Regions from separate parts of the Homo sapiens genome. Here regions 2 and 3 are each linked to region 1. Evidence: promoter capture Hi-C in 16 types of primary human blood cells and fetal thymus (Javierre and others, 2016). All regions are on one chromosome and are shown on one strand. The core of a region is centred on a gene start or on the middle of the fragment in contact, and the rest is flanking DNA. Distances in the headings are between cores, read along the strand shown.

Region 1 (4,116 bases), core at 1,448-3,947:
TTCAGGGAAAAGACAGTGTATAAAGTAAATTTTTCCCTCAAATATGACATTTGAAGAATTACAAAATTTTCATTTTGTCTGGCGATTTTCCTAACTAAATTTAAATTTACAGTCATCTTCTTGCAAATGTTGCCAGAAACAAAACGGAGTCACTAAGGAAAAAAAAAAAAAACTGGCAGAGCTAGGGAAGACTATGCAGAGAGGGTTCTCACACTTGTATACCTAATAAGAACAACTACCACGAAAGACTCTGCAAAAACCACAACCTTGAAAAGGCCATCACAACCTTACATGAAAAATGCCTCAAAGACATCTGCCCTGCCAGCAACTGTCTGTTTAACCTCTGACTGGTGTCACCGTTGTTATTGATATTTGTAGGCAAGGATAATTATTTCAAAACAAATATGTAATTCTCTTAATTTTTTTTCTTTAAAAAATTTGCCTTCCTTTACCTCCCTGAGTATGCACATCGTTTACTATTGCATATATATTCCCATTGCAATGCTCTATTCTCAAATAAATATCTTTTTCTTTTAGAGAGCCTCTTTTTCTGTTTGTTATTTAGGTAGACATTCTGCACATATTTGGCAAAAACTTACACGCTGTTGAAACTGAAACCAAGACCTCTTCCTCTATCTTCCATCTCTCAGGCACAACTCAATTTCTAACTCAGTCTTTGGCAATACTAATATTCCTTTCTGGTAACATAATTTTGACTGGATTACTGTTCTCATGTTTTAGGCCTAACTTGTTTAAAAATTTGATGAGTGGCCGGGCGTGGTGGATCATGCCTGTAATCCTGGCACTTTGGGAGGCTGAGGTGGGCAGATCACAAGGTCAGGAGATCAAGACCATCCTGGCCAACATGGTGAAACACAGTCTCTACTAAAAATACAAACATTAGCTGGGCATAGTGGCACATGCCTACAGTTCCAGCTACTTAGGAGGCTGAGGCAGGAGAATCACTTGAACCCAAGAGGCAGAGGCTGCAGTGAGCCGAGATCATGCCACTGCACTCCAGCCTGGGCAACAGAGCAAGACTCTGTCTCAAGAAAAAAAAAAGTTTGATGAGTGTGGGGCTAGTGTTGTGATAGTCTCCTGTGCCCTGCCAACTCTTTTGGATTATTTTTTAAAATGAGGAACATTTCAGATTTAGTTTGTAGCAATTCAACTTTGGGAGTCTTGCAAGAACTCACTTATTTTAATGGAAAATAGCCCAGGTTGTCTACCAGCTTTTCCTGAGCTCTGTTTTGGGTGTTCTACCCAAAATAAAAAACGTATAAACACAAAAATAGTAATGTTCATGTCTGTGACAGCCAATGTTAAGTCTCTGCTGTTGTCTATGGCTGTTATCCAAAAAGTAGATTCAATTCTGTCATGTATTGGAGTCTGGGAATGTTGTTAAGAGATACATACATTGAAATTTGGAGAGCTGCTCTGTATTTATCAATTAGGCAGTAATAATCTTGGATGAAGGCTAGTCTTATTAATGTTGTGAACCAGTCTTATTAATGTTGTGAACCAGTAGTGTCCCCAGGAATAGAGAACACTACACTACTCACTTTGCATTTTCTTATCCACATAATAGAATTAGTTAGTGATAACCCTCTTTACTCGGAATCGATTGCTGCCACATTTCTGCATGATACATAGATCTCTGCAAATATGTGATTTTTTTCCTAAATGGAGAAAATCCAAAAATTCTTCTTAAAATTTTTCATGGGCATACAAGAAGATAGGAGGTGACATCTTAAAACAAGTATCTCTGAACTTTTTGTATAAAAAAAAGCAACCTCTTTGCTCTATTATTAATACCACATGTGGTGATATGAATGCCCAAATGTAGACAGCAGTTATGAGATATTACAAGAGAAGAAAAAAGCTCTGCCGCTTATGGCAACTTACCCAAAAAGTTATCTTTGACTTAGGCTGGAGGTGCACATAGCATAGCTCCTAGAGTTCTGTTTATGTCATGAATATTTGTTACTCAAAACTCCATAGGCCAAGAGCTCCTGAAGAGAAGGTCACATGCTAGCAGCAATTGTCATTTTTTCCCTCAAATATTGCTATAGTATAATTTTGTTTGAATTATAAACTTCAGTCTTTATTATATTTGATTCTGGCATTTTGGTTTGTAGTGCTATAGTACAGGAAATGTTTTAAATGCTTTGCCTTTATGTAAGTGAATATCGGTACACACACATACACATACACACACAGACACAGACACACACACACACACACTCACAGCCAGTTTAGAATGTGGGGTAAGGAACACCAGACAAAGAGGGCAATATAAGAAAGAGAAGACATTGAAAACATTGGGAAGAGGCAGTAACAGAGTGCCAGAGAAGATAAGGCAGCTGGGAGGGGGAGAAACTAAGTGAGGTGGATAAACTAAAAGCATCCTTCTGGGTTAAAGCAGACTAAAAGCTTAGCAATTGCTTAATATCACCATCTTATCCTATAGATGTGGGAATAAAGGCTAAGGAAGGAGAAATGAAAATGCAGAATCATATGGGGGCTTTTCCAAGGAGGTATGAAGGAAGGTGAGGACAGGGAGAGCGGCTGGAAGTCAGGGGGTAAGAGAAACTCTAAAAATCAGGGCTTGAGGGAAATAAAAGGTGAGGTAAGAGGCTCAGGGCTGTGGGAGGCACATTTTTCTCTGAAAAGCAGTTTGGATGAGGAAGAGATTTGGCAGTTGGAAGAGAGAAGAAGTCACTACAGGGTACTGAGGAAAAGCTTTGCTGAAATTGGAGATCAAATACCAGCTCTGCCAGTAAGAAGTTGCATCTCCCAGTGAAATGCTGCTGCTGCCATTTCAACTGTTAGCTGTTCTCTTTCCTGGTGGTAACAGTGAACATGGTAAGAGTCACTCTGGCAGCTCCCAGCACTGGTGCAGGGGTTTGGATTTTAAAAAGCAAGCAGGGCTTTCCTAGGTGCAATTGGACACTAAGGGTCTGGGTCTTTCTGTCTCCCGCCCTCTTCAACCATTCTGGTGGTTGGGACTAGAACCTGAAGCCTTAAGGCAGTCAAATGTGTCAGACTTCCTGTGTTCTTTAGACTCTAGGTTCTTGTTTTCTAAATCATTTTCATTCCCATTCTTCCTAATTGTCTCCTGCTTCTCTCTTTATCTTCACCATCTTGCTTTTCCACTCTTCACAGCCTTCCAGGGGCCGACCTCCTTTCATGTTATCCAGACCTCGTCCTTTACCAATAGTACCTGGGCACAAACTCAAGGCTCAGGCTGGTTGGATGATTTGCAGATTCATGGCTGGGATAGCGACTCAGGCACTGCCATATTCCTGAAGCCTTGGTCTAAAGGTAACTTTAGTGATAAGGAGGTTGCTGAGTTAGAGGAGATATTCCGAGTCTACATCTTTGGATTCGCTCGAGAAGTACAAGACTTTGCCGGTGATTTCCAGATGAAATGTGAGTCTAGTCCACCGAACTGGGAAGAGTCTCAAGGACTCTCTTTTCTCTCTTTTTTGCAAAGTGTTGCTCTCTCTGATGCTTCTCCCTTCCTTTCTATTTTACCCAAATGCACGCACATGCTTTTCTTGAGTAGTCTCTCACTCCAGCTTCACACCATCACACCTCATATTTCAGATTCTTGCTGCCTCTGCACTCTTCTCTTACTCTCAGACTGTCTTCCACTTTGTAACCAGCTGCTGGTTTGTCTTATGTGAAACTTCTCCTCAAGGGCCCTTACTTCTCCTACCCTGTGCCTGAGTGATCTAACGTGTGGCTTTCTCCCCTAATCCATCTTTTCAATCATCTCCTCCCCGCACCCTCCTCTTGCTGGGAACCTCCACTCACTCTGGAATGCTGCACTCCTGACTGCACCACGCTCTGCCTCACCTCTCCTTTCATACTCACTGTACTCCTTTATCACATACCTTTGTCTTCATGGCATGCACATTTTTCTCAATGCTCTTGTTTCTGAAAATGTCTAAATGTTATCATTAGTTTTTAGCTCATCATCATTTTACACCAAATAACTTTATCCCCACCAAAATCTAAAATCCTAGGTTCTTTTCTCATGCCTTTTTTTCTTATTTGTGTTTAATAACTTGCTCTCTTTTCCCTCTACATAGACCCCTTTGAGATCCAGGG
Region 2 (4,265 bases), core at 292-2,791, 320 kb before region 1:
TTAGCCCAGTGTGGTGGCACAGGCCTATGGTCCCAACTACTTGGGAGGTTGAGCTGGGAGGATCACTTGAGCCAGGAGGCTGAGGCTACAGTGAGCCTTGATCAAGCCATTGCACTCCAGCCTATTGCAACAGAGTGAGACCCTTATCTTCAAAATCAAAACAGAAAGAAAGAAACTTGAAGTTGAAACAGGAGGTTTAAGTAATTACATTTCTCAACTAGAAGCTGACAGTAGAGGGCAACAGACATCACATTGACTATCAGCTCATTCAACATTTTTCTTGTTTGATTTTCAAACTAAGAAACACAAAGACACATACAAAAAAGTAAACAAACAAAACAGAAACTAAACACCTTCATTGTGTATAAATGTATTTTTGATGATGCAGGGAAGGAAAAACAGACTCAGACAGGTCTGTGTGTGTAGAATGCTTAAGATAGAAAGCTATGGAAATATGATGGTTAAGCATGTGACTGCTGTCAGATGGCCTGGTTCAAGCTTAGGCTCCACCATTCAGCAGTGGTATAATCTTGAGAAAATACTTACCCTCTTTAGTCCTCAGTTTTCTGATCTATTTAATGGGAATAGTAATAGTAACTATGCTTCTTGGAGTTGTGAAGATTAAATGAGCCTAAGTTTCTAGCACATAAAAAACAATGATGATAATTGGTTGGGGTGGGGGGGTGGGTGGGAGGATGGTGAGTGGTAGTGATGATAACTTTCTTGTGACCCCCACTAGCCTGCCTCTGGTACATATCCTTACTTTTGAACTCTCTACTCTCTTGTATACCAGAGAAGCAGATGACACGAAGGAGCAGATTGAGAAGAAATGCCAGGCCCTCAGTGCTGCAGACCCTGGCTCAGATCTGTTCAGTGTTCAGGCTCTTCAGCGACGGCATGAGGGCTTTGAAAGGGACCTCGTACCCCTGGGAGATAAGGTGAGACAAGTCCTTCAAAGCTTTTCCAACACTTTCCAGTCTATATTTAGCCGTATACCAATGCCCTCTTCTTTGGTTCTCTTTTTCAGTCTTTTATTCTTATATTTCTCTCTGTTCTGTGCCATATTTATTCTTGTACACTGTCCCTAAGGCAAGACCATGAAAAGGATATGCCCCATGACCATTAACATGGGGAAAAAACTTGTTAAACTCCTGCTGTCTGAGTGAGCACCCTATATCCCCTTGCCTCTTTGGTGGGTTACAAGTGACCAGATCTTGTGGCAGCTAGGTGGAGGCCAGTAGCCCAGAAGAAATAGCAAATGTCCATACCCAGGATGATCAGGCCAATATCTGAGTATGGTGCATGTTTTTCTTAGCAAGGAATTGAATGAGTTGTTTAACTCTGTTTCAACCCAAAAGTGTACTCTGGAGCTTGTCAGATATACTCAGAGGCTTGGCATTATCATGCAGAGCAAAAAGAAGCTCCTCACATGAAGAATCAAGACCCTTGGGTTTCCTAATTGAGGTTGCCACTAACCAGCAGAGTCACTTAACCACTCTTCCCCACAACTCTCTTATTTTTAAAAAGAAGTATGGTAATGCCAATTGTAACTACCTTAGGGAGTTATGTGGACTAAAAGGTTGATATTATTTTGTAAAGTATGATGACATACTTGTACATCACTGATATCTATTTGAGGAGCTGAATACTGGGACTCAGGATTCTCCTTTTGCTAAGATTCAGGTGTGTCTCTAGGCTGATTATCAGAGCTATTGTACCTCCCCAGGTGACCATACTGGGGGAGACAGCAGAGCGGCTCAGTGAGTCCCATCCAGATGCCACTGAGGACCTGCAGAGACAGAAAATGGAGCTGAATGAGGCCTGGGAAGACCTGCAGGGGCGTACAAAGGATCGTAAGGAGAGCCTAAATGAGGCCCAGAAATTCTACCTGTTCCTCAGCAAGGCCAGGTAGAGTGGGGTGGGTAACTTCCGTGTCTGGCCTCTAAGTAGACTGTCTGGGAGCAGTCTGGGTACAGATGCTGTTCACTGCTGGTTTTGGAGGGCATCACTACGTTTAAGTCTCACCTCTTGCAAGGCATAAAAAATTTCAGGTTTGAAACTAGAAGCAATAAAATACAAAGTTTGAAAGAATATGAAGCCATGTAGGCCAATTAAGTAAGCTTCTATAATGTAGAAGCTTTTTTGTTCTACTGAAGAGACAGTAGTATTCAGTCTTCTACTGTATTCAGTATTCTGTTGAATACAAATAACTATGGTAGAACATAATGAGGCCGAAAACACACATTGTAACAAACAGCAGTGGGAATTCAGAGTTGGGTAGAATAGATGATGCACTGTAGATAAAGTAACATTTTATTACACCTTATCAGTCAAACTTTTAACAGAAGAGAAAACAATTCATGTAGACTGAACTGTGCAAAAAAAGACATAATCATGAGAAAAGAATAAGCATAAGAACATGTTTGGGGAGGGGGTGGTAAGGAGAAGTAGTAAGAGATAAACTTAAAAATAATATTGGGACCAAATTCCAGAGAACTGTGAATATCTTACTAAAGTCTAGACATTATCACAATCCAAAATTCACCTCTCAAACATATACTTTGTGGAACAGTTCCCACGTTTGGCTCTATCGCATCAGTCAGCTGAGAGGAGCATTAGAGTAGAGGGTCCAGGAAGTTGTAGCTCTCAATGCAATGCTTTTCAAGAAAAAAGGAGGCAAATTTTGGCAAATGACTGTAGTTCCTCTTGGAAATCCCCTCCCCAGTTCAGCACTGGAAAGCTATAGTTTTTGACACAGTTTAAATAAATAGCACCCACACCCATTCCAATGGTGCTTCCTTCCCTTTATGAAGCTGTACTCCTCAGTATTTCAGAGTAGTGTTCCCACCCCTGAGCAACATTAACATCTTATTTTACTCCATATGATACTTTTGCTTTCAGTTTTGTTTTTTAATTGCTATTAGTGCCTATGCTCTGTTTTTTGTTTGTTTTTTGTTTTGTTTTGTTTTGTTTTTATCCATTCTTAACCTAAAGTATGAGTTCCTAGAAGGCACAGATATGCCTTTTTCACAATGTTTGGTACTTAGTAAGCACCCAATAAAACTTAGTTGCTTGAATAAATAAATTTACAAAAGAAGAGACCTCTCTTTCCTAGAGCTAAGGGTTCCTGTTGAGCAAACAAGAGTAATGACATTCTTTATGAGATGCTTAATTTATACACCATATATGCTTTAAAGTTAATGCATAGTTAAAATTTGCCTTTTAAGAAGATAGACCTTAGTTTTGCTCGTCTAACTTCCTGACTACTAAAAGGGTAGGGAAATAGACCTTGATTTAATCAACAGTGTGGAGGCCTGTGTGTGTATGTGTATGTTGGCCAAAATATGTGCTAGATTCACTTGAGAATAAAAGTAAGAGGAAAGACATGATTTCTTTGAGACTCTGTAATAAGATGTATCTTCAAACCCTAGAAACCACTTAAAAGGAACAGTAACCAACAGAAGTAATGAAATATATAACAGTCCAGGATTCCAGAGGTCTAGGTTTTATTGAAGATGTCTGCTTTTAGTTATACCACATAGGCAGATTAATTACCTTTTCTAAGGTGACTTCTTTATCTCCATAATGAAAACAAAAAATTCCCGGAATCTCTGCAGGATTACTGCAAGAATTGAAAAAGATAATAAAAGTGAAGAGGCTTTCAAATACAAGGGATTGTTATCATTAGGTGATATAATAAAAACAGCAAACGTAAGATCTGTAAAGCATATAAAGCCAGATAAAAAATGTTATTCTGGAAATGTTTTCTAGAGAATGGAAAACTGTAGGACAAACAGCACTGTAGCAAGTTGCAAGGTTTTCTTGTCAATTCCAATGTGTCTGTTTATCTAGGGATCTGCAGAACTGGATCAGTAGCATTGGTGGCATGGTATCATCACAGGAGCTGGCCGAAGACTTAACTGGCATAGAGATCTTGCTGGAGAGACATCAGGTAAAACTACAAAAGTCACAGCCACTGATCACTTGACCTGAAACCTCTACTAATTTTAAAATTTCCAATGGAGTTGGCCTCACTGATTTCTTCCCCCTTTTTCCCACAGGAGCACCGTGCTGACATGGAGGCAGAGGCTCCCACCTTCCAGGCCTTAGAGGACTTCAGTGCAGAACTTATCGACAGTGGGCACCATGCTAGCCCTGAAATTGAAAAAAAGCTTCAAGCTGTCAAGCTAGAGAGAGATGATTTGGAGAAGGCTTGGGAAAAACGCAAGAAGATCCTAGACCAGTGCCTGGAGTTGCAGGTACAG
Region 3 (4,553 bases), core at 1,387-3,886, 330 kb after region 1:
TAAAAGGGAAGGACCACCTGCTGTCATATTTTTTGGTCCACATAATGCCTACCAGTATGTTTTGCATATAATAATGTACAGTTGATGATTAAAAAAATAATTCTCCTGATTTGGTGAAAGAGAGAACTGAGGCCTACTGAGATTAAGTAATTTGCACTGAAATCACAAAGTGAGACCTTCAAGGGCAGAGATCTAGTACATTATTCACTTTGCAACACTGGAGCCCAGCACACAGTAAGCACACAATTCTCTTCCGCTGAATGAAGGAACAAAAGTCCTTCCTCTTTCCACACATCTTTCAGTGAAGATATATTCCTCAGACTGCCTCAGAAGGAAAGAAGGGGCAAAAAGAAAAGGCATCCAATGGCCTAGTCGATTCTGAAGCGGACCTAGGATGGGACAGCTTCCTGGGATAAACCTGCTGGGCACAGAGTACACCTCCAGACACTCGGGTTCCTGTTATCCCTTCCCTGCCTCAAAACCCAAGACCCACAGCATTCTGGGTGAGTCTCCCATCACCTTCCAGAGCCAGATTGCAAAAGGAATGAAGCGGCAGCATTCTCTCCTGGGAAACTAATGGAATTTGCTAGAGAGTTCTGGAGATTTCTACCCCTGGATTTAAGACCCTTAATCCTGAGGAGGTTGACTGGCTGCAAGGCTCATTTATTTCAATACGATGCCTATTTTGTTAAATGGGCTCAAGGAGGGCAGAGAGGGATGAGGACTGCAGCCCCTGGAGACAACAGAGGTTAATAAAAGTGGCTGAATAAATTAAATATGGAGGGAAGGACAAGCTGGGAGCTTGGAGTCAGCTGATAGAGGGAGAGTAAGTGGGATAGAAAGAAAAAACAAAAGTGTCATACTTCAGTGATGTCTGCGAGCTACAGCAGCTTTTATCCTGGATGCTCCAAGAACTTAATTAGGTTCGCATTGTCTGACAATCAGACGTAGGAAGGTATAAGAGCTGGAGCTACAGAATGGAGAGGGACCAGTGTTACAGAATGAGGAACCCCAAGCTTCTTTCTCAACTTTCATAACTTCACAGTTTGTGCATCTATCAGAGAGGATGCAGGGCATGCAAGGCAAGGCAAAAAGTAGTGCCTTTAAAGACACAGGAGGGCTGCTATGGCTGGAAGAAAAATGACTCACAAAAATGTACTACTGTTGCACACTAGTGCTCTGGTGACTGAAAAGGCTTGGGTAAAGATGAGAGATATCTGTCCAGATGTGTATGGGGATGGGGATAAGAAGTGGGTGCATGTATAGCTGCACTATGAAGGCATGTGTGAATACATATGCATATGCATATGCATGCAGTGAGATTGCATCCACACGCTTGCATGCAGCAGTAATGCAGAACAGGTAGGTGTGCAGTCTTCCTTCTAGGAATTATCCTCAGCCCCCACCCCATCTTTCCTGCTTGGGTTCTAGTTCTGGCTCTGTCACTTACTAGCTGGATCATCTTGGACAATCTGCTTAACTTCTTTGGATCCCTGTTTGTCCATCTGTAAAATGGGGATAACACCTAACTTCAACAATTATGTCAGTATTGAATTAGTTACTAATGCATGTAAAATACAAAATTGCCCTTCACAAAAGTGAACGGATTTCTCCCCCACTCTGAGAGAGCCCATTATTTTTCCTGATTTCTGAAATTGCCTCTTCCTCCTCCCTGGTTTCACATTTGAGGATCAAGGACATGACAGCCTCTTTCTCCTCTACTGCTGACAACCCACCCCCACACCCCCATCCTTTTCCAGGTCAAAGAACCCTCCAGGAGATTGCCAAGTAAACTGGTCCAGAGGCCCTGGGAAGAAACCAGACAGGAACTGGTAGGTCGGGAAGGGGCATAACTTTCTCATCTCTGGACATATGAAGAGAAATGTCTCTAGCCTCAGATGGAAACATCTCCCAGAAATTGGGGAGATTAAGGAATTTGTCCCCATCCCTTCCCTCCATACCAACTGCCACCCCTTTGCAATTTATTTAACTTCTCTAGGTCTCTGTTTTCTCATCTATTAAATGGAGAAACAACTCTCCTGCCTACACCATAGGATGAGTGTATCTCTCTATCAAATGGTACATGTGAAAAGTTGCTAAAATTGCCAAGCACCATACAGGTACAAAGATAAAAGACTCTAAACGTGGGAGGAAAAGGATTGAGGCTTTCCAAACCTCCTTCTGACAAGGGGCATTATTTACTGGTCCCAGCCCCACTGATTAAAACATGTATCCTGACATCTAAGTTTTGCTTCACAAATGATCATCAAAGCAAGGCAGGGAGATAGATGTGTCCTTGGAATTTCTGGGCTGAGAACTAGGGAAGGGGGCTGAGCTGAGTGAGGCACCAGGAGAGGAAAAAAGGCCTAGGCTTCCCTCCTGTCCTTCCACAGCTGCCTTAACTCTAAGAAAGGCAGGGTGTGGCTCTTCTAGGCAGGCTGAAGGGCACTCATGGCGCTTAGGAGGGAGACAAAAGAGGGGTTGAATCTGGGGTCTAACACCTCAGGTATGCCCTTCAGCAAGTTACTTAAACTCTCAACTGTGGTTTCTTCATCTATAAAATGGGAGTAACATTAACCTGAAAAGCACACTGTAGGAATTCAATAAAAGGTAATTTTGATGCTTTGGTATGGAGTTCACCTCCTACAATCACTTTTCACCACCCAAGGCCAGGCAGTTCCCCAGGGCACAGGCTAAGAAGGAGGGTTGAAAGCCTCCCCAGGCGGGTTAGAACAAGCCATCTAAGACCCTAGCCTCCAATCCTACCAGACTACCAGGGACCAGACAAATTTGGAAGCTGACACTTGGGGAGATCCTGGTCTCAGGATTATCCCCTAGACCCCTTCTCAGTGCTTCTTTTGCCTCTGTATGGCTCTGGGCCTCTCCAGGAGTCAGCCTTGCATGGAACAAGAATAATTCCCAAATTTGTAGTTCATGGACCTGTAACAAGGCTGTGTTTAATATTAGAAACAAACCTTTTTATTTGCCAAGTCCTTGAAAAAAGTCATTTACTAGATTTATCATATCATCAAAGAAAAACAATTTAACACCAAAAAATGTAGGACAGAATCTCAGAATAAAGGATTGTTTTTTAAATTTGAATGAGTTTACCTTTATGAAATACTCACTCCCTTTTCTTCCTAGTTCTCATTCTGCTATGGACCAGGAAAATCCCTGTCCCAGTCCAGCATCAGTCTCTGCTGGCATGTAGGATCTGGCAAAGGAGAAGGGTGCAGGCTGTGGGATCCACTGGTTCCTACAACTACCAATAAGATACTTAATGTATCTAAACCTCAGTTTCTTGGCCAGGTACAGTGGCTCACACCTATAATCCCGGCACTTTGGGAAGCCGAGATGTAAGAAGCGGTTGAGCCTTGGAGTTTGAGACTAGCTTGTGCAACCTAGCAAGACCCATCTCTCCAAAAGAAAAAAAAGAAAATTAGCCAGGTGTGTGTGGTCCTAGCTACTTAGGAGGCTGAGGTAGGAGAATGGCTTGAGCCTAGGAGGAGGTTGCAGTGAGCCATAATCACACCACTGCACCCTAGCCTGGGCAGCAGAGCAAGACCCTATCTAAAAAAATAAATAAATAAATCTCAGTTTCTCATCCATGAAATGGGGATAATTTACACAGCCAATCTCAGGGGGCTGTAGCATAGATTAAATTAGATAATGCATATGAAGTAGTTACACAGGGCTCAATAAATGATCCATATTATTTCCAGACTCTGAAATGCTGCCACCTCGGGGCTAGTGTCCCTCCTCATTTCACACAAGAGCTCTGGTTCCTTCTCACTCAAGTGCCAACCTCTTCCACTTTTGCTCTCTCTCCTCAAATCCCTTCCCCAGATCTTTTCTGAGGTCTCCAAGGAGGGGGTCAGTTTCCCCTTCTGGGTCTGCCACAACATAGTTCTTTCCATGAGAGATACAAAGAAGGCACTTACTGAAGCCCAGGACCAAGAATCTGGGGAGCTGGAGCTAGAAAACACACACACACACACACACACCCCACAAAGAATCATAGGGAGAAGAAAAGGAAGCGCAGACAACTTGACTGCCTGTCTATCTATGTCTCACCTCAAAGCCAAGATAGCAAGCATTTACTGAGCACTTCTCGCTGTGCCAGACACTGTTCCATGTACGTTACATGGATTAACATATTCAAGTGCCACCACAACCCTATGAGGTATTACTTCCATCCTCACTTCTGGAAGAGCATGCTGAGGCACAGGGAATGTACATGACTTGTTCAAGCTTACGACTACCAAATGGTGGAGGTGGGAGCTGGATGCGAGTCTGTGATTTAATCGCCATCGAATGCTGCCTCTTTCCAGCACTGCAGCGCGCTCATCAAATCAATCAATTGATCAGATATTTAAGGGGCACTTACCACCAGAAACTATAGGATAAAAGAAATTAAGACTTAGTCCTTGTAAGGGTGTAAAGAGGTCCTAGGGGGGCAGAGGTGGGGCTTCCTCCTCCCATCTCACTGGAGCGCCAAAGGCAGAGCCAGAACAACCAACCACTCAGCTGTGGGAAGGAGCAGAGGCGAGAAG

Evidence for each region. Contacts are between HindIII fragments. The CHiCAGO score rates a contact against its expected background, and 5 or more counts as called.
Region 2: a contact is called between a fragment that was not itself captured here and the fragment with the promoter of CD1B in region 1, in 1 of 17 cell types (fetal thymus). The highest score is 10.3, in fetal thymus.
Region 3: a contact is called between a fragment that was not itself captured here and the fragment with the promoter of CD1B in region 1, in 1 of 17 cell types (fetal thymus). The highest score is 5.6, in fetal thymus.

The regions. Positions count from the first base shown.
Region 1 is chr1:158,330,112-158,334,227 of GRCh38, reverse strand. CD1B (CD1b molecule) reads left to right here and starts at 2,697. Exons shown (of 6, transcript NM_001764.3): 1 at 2,697-2,865; 2 at 3,166-3,432; 3 at 4,098-4,116. The coding sequence starts at 2,805. The HindIII fragment of the contact is 309 bases long and covers 2,436-2,744 here.
Region 2 is chr1:158,645,182-158,649,446 of GRCh38, reverse strand. SPTA1 (spectrin alpha, erythrocytic 1) reads left to right here. Exons shown (of 52, transcript NM_003126.4): 26 at 794-938; 27 at 1,727-1,908; 28 at 3,853-3,952; 29 at 4,062-4,259. Among named protein-coding and RNA genes, the nearest start is that of SPTA1, 39 kb to the left of the region's middle. The HindIII fragment of the contact is 1,162 bases long and covers 961-2,122 here.
Region 3 is chr1:157,996,920-158,001,472 of GRCh38, reverse strand. All of the region lies in intron 1 of KIRREL1 (kirre like nephrin family adhesion molecule 1), which reads right to left. Among named protein-coding and RNA genes, the nearest start is that of KIRREL1, 5.6 kb to the right of the region's middle. The HindIII fragment of the contact is 3,235 bases long and covers 1,019-4,253 here.